Linked DNA regions of Homo sapiens: region 2 is linked to region 1. Evidence: promoter capture Hi-C in 16 types of primary human blood cells and fetal thymus (Javierre and others, 2016). All regions are on one chromosome and are shown on one strand. The core of a region is centred on a gene start or on the middle of the fragment in contact, and the rest is flanking DNA. Distances in the headings are between cores, read along the strand shown.

Region 1 (3,651 bases), core at 889-3,388:
AACCAGGGTGCTGGCTCTCACGGTTAGTGACTCTAAACAAGTGTTTCAGGGAAGCAGAAATTGTGCTTCTACACGACCCCTTGGATGCACATGGATTAAACACAATGGGACCTCTATAAAGGCTCTAAATCTAGGCCCCCTCCGCTTTGTTTTTTCTTTTTTGAGACGGAGTCTCGCTCTGTCACCCAAGGCTGGAGTGCAATGGCGTGCTCTTGGCTCACTGCAACCTCCACCTTCCGGGTTCAAGTGCTTCTCTTGCCTCAGCCTCCCGAGTAGCTGGGACTACAGGTGCCAGCCACCATGCCCGAATCTAGGCCCATTCTAAGGTAAGGTCCAAAAGGACCTTAAGCCATTTGTTTTTAGATTTTTTGGAAGAACATTTTGTAAATAACAAAGGACTGTGCACAGATGGGGGAAATGCCATTATGAGGATGAGTGTGCTGACCTCAAACCAGGGTCAAAGAGTATCATTGCCTTTTACTCCAAGCATGAAACCATTCATGTGCCAGGTACTATGCTAAGGAACCCAGTCCTCACAACAACTCTATGGGAGACAGTTGCTTTGACAGGTGAGGAAAGTGAAGCTCTGAGAGGACCAAGGTCACAATGAAAGGAGATGTTAGAGGTGACAGGGCTGGGTCATGGCCAGCAGCTCCAGCCTCTTAAGCCAAGGCTCATGAGAGGAACCCCTGAGGCCTGGTGTCAGGCCTGTTCTCTCTCAGTATATGCCCTGGGAAAAGGACTATGTCCCTTTTCACAAAGGCCGGTGGGAGATCACCAAAGACACCTTGAGAACTTGCCATCAAGTACAGCAGTCAAAAAAATACAATATTTTTAAACTTTATGGAGTGGAATGGTCTTTTAAAAAACTAGTTTTTTTTTTTTTAACTAATGTATAAATCCGATCTAGAAAACCAGAGATGGGCCACTGTGATTGAAGGTGGGCAAGGGTAGCCTGAGACTCCTCCAGAGCTCCTGGAGCACAGCTTGAATGAAAGCCACTTATCCACTAGGTTGGCACTTACTGGGAGAAGTGCAAGGGATGCCAAGATGTCTAAGGCTTTGACTTTGGGTTGGAAAGAACCGGGTGAGATTCTAGGGGATTCACTCCTGGGTTAGTCAGCCTCTGGCAGGGCTCAGGATTCCAGGTCTGCCACATGTATTGGGTGCTGCTGGCAGGTCTATGTGAGCTGAGCATTACTTGCCCCACCCTGGTTCCAGCCAGGCCCCAATAGCTTGACCTCACAATATAAAAAATATTTTCACTATCTTATGTTTCATGAATTTAATTCTATTAAGGTAAGGCTTACTACGTTCAAAACTCCAACCCCCTCCCTTTTTTCTTGCCCTTTAACAAGGCACCATCCGGTTTTCTTTACTAACAAAATGTCAGTGTTCAAGTTCAGTCTTGGTGCAAGATCGATGGCAGATGTCAGGGGCTGGCCGGGATGGCTTACATTGATATCATCATACGTAGGTCCTTCTCATAGATGTCAGGGATGTTACCTACCGGCGAGTTGATCATGCGCACGGTGTTGTTATTAAACAGCTTGAATTCGTAATTGATGAGCTGTTCCCAAAAGCCGTTGTTGGGCCGGATGATGGGGCGGCGCGACTTGGTCCATGTATGGGCGTCCAGCAGCGACATGGAGTGGTATTTCATGAGGTACGCAAGGCACAGTGAGGCGGAACGGCTCACTCCAGCCATGCAGTGCAGCAGCGTACGGCCCTGCCTCATATCGATGGTGTGGATAAGATCAGCAATGGGGTCAAAAAAGTCGTAGAGACGCGAGTCACGAGCATCGGTAACAGGCACCTTTATGTACTGAATGCCCTCGAAGAATACGTTGACCACTTCCACCGAGGCATTGACAATGGCGGTGATGCGATTGCTGGACAGAAGGAGTTTGTCGTTGGCGGCCACACCATTGCTGAGAAACAAGCTTCTGGTTATTTGGGAGAAGCTGTAGATGGAGGGCTGCTGGACACCCTGAGATGATGAAAAGGAGGACGCGGATGCTGTCATCAAGGCGGCTGGTCCGAGGTCTCTCTACGCTGGTTCGGGACACAACACTTACCAAGCTAGTTCAGGATAGCAGCCGCGCCGCCAAGTCTCAGGCTAGGTGTTGGAGAAAGAGGACCAGCTATCGGCCACCACCCTCTTTCTGTCTCCTCTCACCACTCCCATCTGGGCGTCACAATCCCGGACAGATAGCCCTGCGGCTCCGGTTTCCATGGCAATGGCCGCTTGCCGCAAGGAGGACAGGGCCTCTAAGCAGGGTCTTCAGAGACACCCCAGTCTCTTTTCTTTTTATCTTTCTTCATAGTCATTTATTTTCCAAGGCCTAATTCTTATCTTTCTTGACTTTTAAAAATGTTCTGTTACAAGATATCTATTTTATGTTTCAATTATTGGACCACGTTAAACAAGATCTATGAATACTTCTATTTCATCAGTGTTGCAGAACAGGGCTTACACTTTCCCTGCAAAATAGCAATATCACATTCTAAGTTGGGGAACAGCATTTGGCTCATGTGATATGCTAATCTCTATAAAACTGGAGCGAGATATGGGATTTGGCTGGGCTTGGTGGACTGGCCTGATACTTCTTTGTTGATTGTAACCATAAAATTATTTTCCTGCTTACAAACACATCAGGGCTGGTTGTAAGAGAGCATTGCTAACTGATATATAGCCCTTTATCTTGAAGTTGGCCTGTGGTGGACAGTTGTGACTAATTTAGCTGTGTCATAGTCCATTTGTACATACAGCTCAAATGACTTACCGCATGAGTCTATTTTATTACCTGAAACAACAGTTCAAATTATTTTGTTTACTTTCTTCAAAAAAAAATGCCTACATGCTTTGTGAACTACAAATCACTTTGACCACTACCGATGCTGTCTTCCCAGTAATATTAAACATTCTGAAACAAGTTAATGCTACATGGTAATTGGGCCAAAAATTGAGACAGTTTTGCTCTGTCACCCAGGCTGGAGAGTCCCAGGCCTCTGCTTCCTGGGTTCAAGTGATTCTTGTGCCTTAGCCTACCGAGTAGCTGGGATTACAGGAACGCACCACCACACCTGGCGAATTCTTGTATTTTTAGTAGAGACAGGATTTCACCATGTTGGCCAGGCTGGTCTCAAACTCCTGACCTCAGGTGATCCACCGGCCTCGGCCTCCCAAAGTGCTGGGATTACATGCACGAGCCACAGCACTCAGCCCAAAAATTAATTTCTAAAATGTAACCTGACATTTGCATTTCCTTCCAGCTAAGATTTTTATAGAATTTGGCTGAAAATTGAAAAGAACTATAGCCTAAAACTAACAAATTGTTTCACAGAGTAGCCAATTGACTCACATACTTTGCTCTCATTCCATCATCATTTTGGTATGTGTTCAAAGGTGTGCTGTGATTACGAACAAAGATGAAATAGATACCAGGCTGCTTATGATGGTCAAGGAAATGATAACCTCAAAACACAACACACGTTTCTTTTCTCAGTTGTCATAATCAAATTATTTTGCATTACTTAAATTGTCAGTCCCCACAAAGCTATCTGGAAGAAAATAGAACACGAATACTAAATAAATATGAAAACTGTTTGTTGGGGGCAGCTCAGCTGGGCTAACGGAGAAGCTTTGTA
Region 2 (3,641 bases), core at 622-3,121, 210 kb before region 1:
CAAAATCTAAATAAGTACAAAAGTAGTTAAAAATCTAAATTTTAAAGATACAGTTTCTAGTATATATAAAATATCTTATAAAAATATTTATAATACATATGATTTTAAAGACATCAAAACTCTGTTACAGCCTAACAATGTCTGTAAGACTTAGGATTTCACAGGCAAATGTCTAAATGAAACCATTTAGCCACAGTTCTCAAGAGTACTAATATAACTGAAACTCTTTATTGCTATGGTTACAAACCTTAAGACAACTCCCCCAAAACAAAAGGAAAAAACTAACAAAAGAAAGGCTCATAAATATTACCTGTAAAACATACTTGGCAGAACAATGGATTGAAGTGGCTTTTATTCATATCATTACCAGTATATAACTGCCTGAGCAAACAAATATTTTCAAAAAAAAGTAGGTAGAAATACAAAACTAGGCTGTATGAACCTCAGGCAATTCACTTAAACTAGGATTCAACATCAATAAAAAACTGATGCAATAAAACAAGAGCTAATATCCAATCTTGCTACCTACAGGGTTGTCCTAATGATGGAAACAATTAAGGAGCTACACACACACACACCGCTAACATAAGGAAGATTTGAAAGAACTGTCTATTGAGATGATCAGTTTTTTCGTTTGTTTGTTTTTTTGAGACGGAGTGTCGCCCTTGTTGCCCAGGCTGGAGTGCAATGGCACGATCTCAGTTCACTGCAACCTCCGCCTCCCGGGTTCAAGTGAATTCTCCTGCCTCAGCCTCCCGAGTAGCTGGGATTATAGGCATGTGCCACCACGCCCGCCTACTTTTGTATTTTTAGTAGAAATGGGGTTTCTCCATGTTGGTCAGGCTGGTCTCGAATTCCCAACCTCAGGTGATCCGCCCGCCTTGGCTTCCCAAAGTGTTGGGATTACAGGCGTGAGCCACCGCGTCCAGCGATCCAGAGTTATTAAATCAACTTTTACTTATCAGCTAAACTAGTTCCCCCAAAACACTCATCTGGTCTAAAAAAAGTTAATTAGATAGTTAGGCCAAGGATAAGGGCCAAGTTATTCAATTCCTTCAATTGATAAATATTTGTTAAACACCTAATACATAACAGGAACTGCTAAGACTACACAGTAGTGAAAAATATATACAAGAAAAACAAATTAAGCATATTGTGCTGTGTATGATAACATTATAATACTTCTCAGAGGAAGAACGAGCGCATATTAAGTTTAGAGTACTAGCAGGCTGGACAGAAAATGCAAAGACTACTTCACAAAGACCTCCCTAATCCATTTAAAGACTACTGACTGTATCCTAAAACAATGGAGAACCACTGAATGATTTCAAGTAATGTAATCAGATTTAAATTTTAGGAAAACCACCTTCATGAATTATCTTAACAAATGTTAAAATATACCTCCCAACACTGTAATAAAAACAATGATCTACTTGAAAAAATGGTAGCATCATATTTGGAAATATGAAATTAGATTTCTACCTCATACCATATACAACAAAACCAGCAACTGCATTAAAGACCTGAATATGAAAGGTAAAAGTATAAAGTTAAGAGAAGAAAATGTAGAAGAATGTTTCCTTGAGATGGGAGAGAATTTATTGGACATGACCAAAAAAACACAAATCATAAGGAAGAGTAAAGATCTGACTCAAAAAGCATAGGCAGAGAAACAGGCAATGGACATAAGTAATCCAACACATAAAAGGTGAAAAACAATGTGAGTAACTATACTCCTCTAGAAATCAGAACATACAAGTTTAAATGACACAACAGCTTCTACCTTTAAGACTGGCAAACATAAATTTGAGTAATTCCAAGTATTGTAGAGATGTGAGTAAAGGAGAACACTCACGTCCTGGTGGAAGGGGATTTACTCAAAAAATTAGGAATACAAATATGCTACAATCTAGCAATCTTACTCTTGGAATATGTATGCCAAGGAAACCTTTCCACAGGTAATGTTCTGAACAGTACTGCTTGTAGTATGGAGAAGTTGGGGGGCAACCTAAGTGTCTGTCACTAGACAAGTAGAAGCAAAATACAATGGATGCTTATAGTAGTACATTAATTAGCAATTATAAACGATGTGTAAAAAAGTAACTTGAGTTTATCTTTAATAGTGTTGAGTAGAAGTTTTGCCTCTGACAATATTTGGAGTGACATTCCACACACAGCTTCACATTCTGGATAAAATATAAAAGTCAACTACCAGATGGCACTGGAGAGAGACCAAAATCAGGCAAAACCAAAGGAAAAGTTCACACTTAAAGGAAGGAAACGGCACTAGATGAGTAACTCCCTTTTTCTTGGATTTTCACCTGAAGGCAGGCTTCAACTGGTACTTTGGCTGGCTAGAACTCAAATAGAAATGGCAGTCTTACTAGGCTGAAGAATCATAGGACAGCTTTTGAGGCTACCATAAAGAGTTGGAAGTGAGGGGAGAAATCCCAGTCAGGAGACAGAGAGTGGAAACACCAAATTCCACACATAAACTCTGCCCAAAGCTCTGACTGCCGAATTATGCATGAACAGAACAGATAATGAGCAGCCTAAAAGAACTAGAGAGAGATTTCAGTTGCTGCCATTACAAGGGTGACAAAGTTTAGAGTGTGAGTTAACTGGCTAATAAAGCAAAAATATATCAATCTTCAGAAAAATATAGTCAATCTCCACAATGTATTACTCATGATATGCAGGATAAAAATTATTAAACTTATGAAGATCAGGAAAATTTCACCTATATTCAAAAGAAAAGAAAATTAATGAAAACCAGCTGTGAAATTACTCAGATGTTGAAATTTGTAGTTTTTTTTTTTTTTTTTTTTTGAGACGCACTTTCACTGTGTCGCCCAGGCTGGAGTGCAGTGGCACAATCTTGGCTCACCGCAACCTCTGCCTCCTGAGTTCAAGCGATTCTCCTGCCTCAGTCTCCCGAACAGCTAGGATTACAGGCACGCCATCACACTTGGCTAATCTTTTGTATTTTTAGTAGAGATGGGGGTCTCGCCATTTTGGCCAGGCTGGTCTTGAACTCCTGACCTTAGGTGATCTGCCCACCTTGGTCTCTCACAAGTGCTGGGATTACAGGCATGAGCTACTGCGCCTAGCCCTGTAGATAATTTTAAAGCAGATATTCAGGCTGAGTGTGATGGCACGCGCCTGTAGTCTCAGCTACTTGGAAGGCTGAGGCACGAGAATCGCTTGAACCTGGGAGGCAGGGGTTGTGGTGAGCCAAAATTATGCCATTGCACTCCAGCCTGGGCAAGAGAGCCAGATCCTGTCAAAAAAAAAAAAAAAAAAAAAAAAAAAAAGAAAAAAAAAGCAAGCAGATATTTGAAGAATGTGGACAAAAGAAAAACATAATCCTAATGAATTAATGTATAAAAAATCATACTCCAGAAAGAGAAACAAAAGGAAATTCCAGAATTGAAAAAATGTTAATCTGAAATTTAAAAAAGAAAATCACTATATGGATTGAATAGCAGATTGGAAAGTATATTTAAAAAAAAAAAGAAATCAATGCATTTGAAAACAAGTCACTAGAAAGCATACAGATTGAAGCAGAAACACACACATACAAACACACAAAAGTTAAAAGTTAAAAAAAAAAAAAGAAAGCATCTAAGATGTTTGAGGCA

What was found. Contacts are between HindIII fragments. The CHiCAGO score rates a contact against its expected background, and 5 or more counts as called.
Region 2: a contact is called between a fragment that was not itself captured here and the fragment with the promoter of DUSP21 in region 1, in 1 of 17 cell types (neutrophils). The highest score is 5.4, in neutrophils.

What each region holds. Positions count from the first base shown.
Region 1 is chrX:44,842,508-44,846,158 of GRCh38, reverse strand. DUSP21 (dual specificity phosphatase 21) reads right to left here and starts at 2,138. Exons shown (of 1, transcript NM_022076.4): 1 at 1,271-2,138. The coding sequence starts at 2,026. The coding sequence ends at 1,454. The HindIII fragment of the contact is 1,701 bases long and covers 1,946-3,646 here.
Region 2 is chrX:45,047,348-45,050,988 of GRCh38, reverse strand. The region is part of intron 8 of KDM6A (lysine demethylase 6A); the gene reads right to left. Among named protein-coding and RNA genes, the nearest start is that of DIPK2B, 150 kb to the left of the region's middle. The HindIII fragment of the contact is 5,227 bases long and covers 1-3,641 here.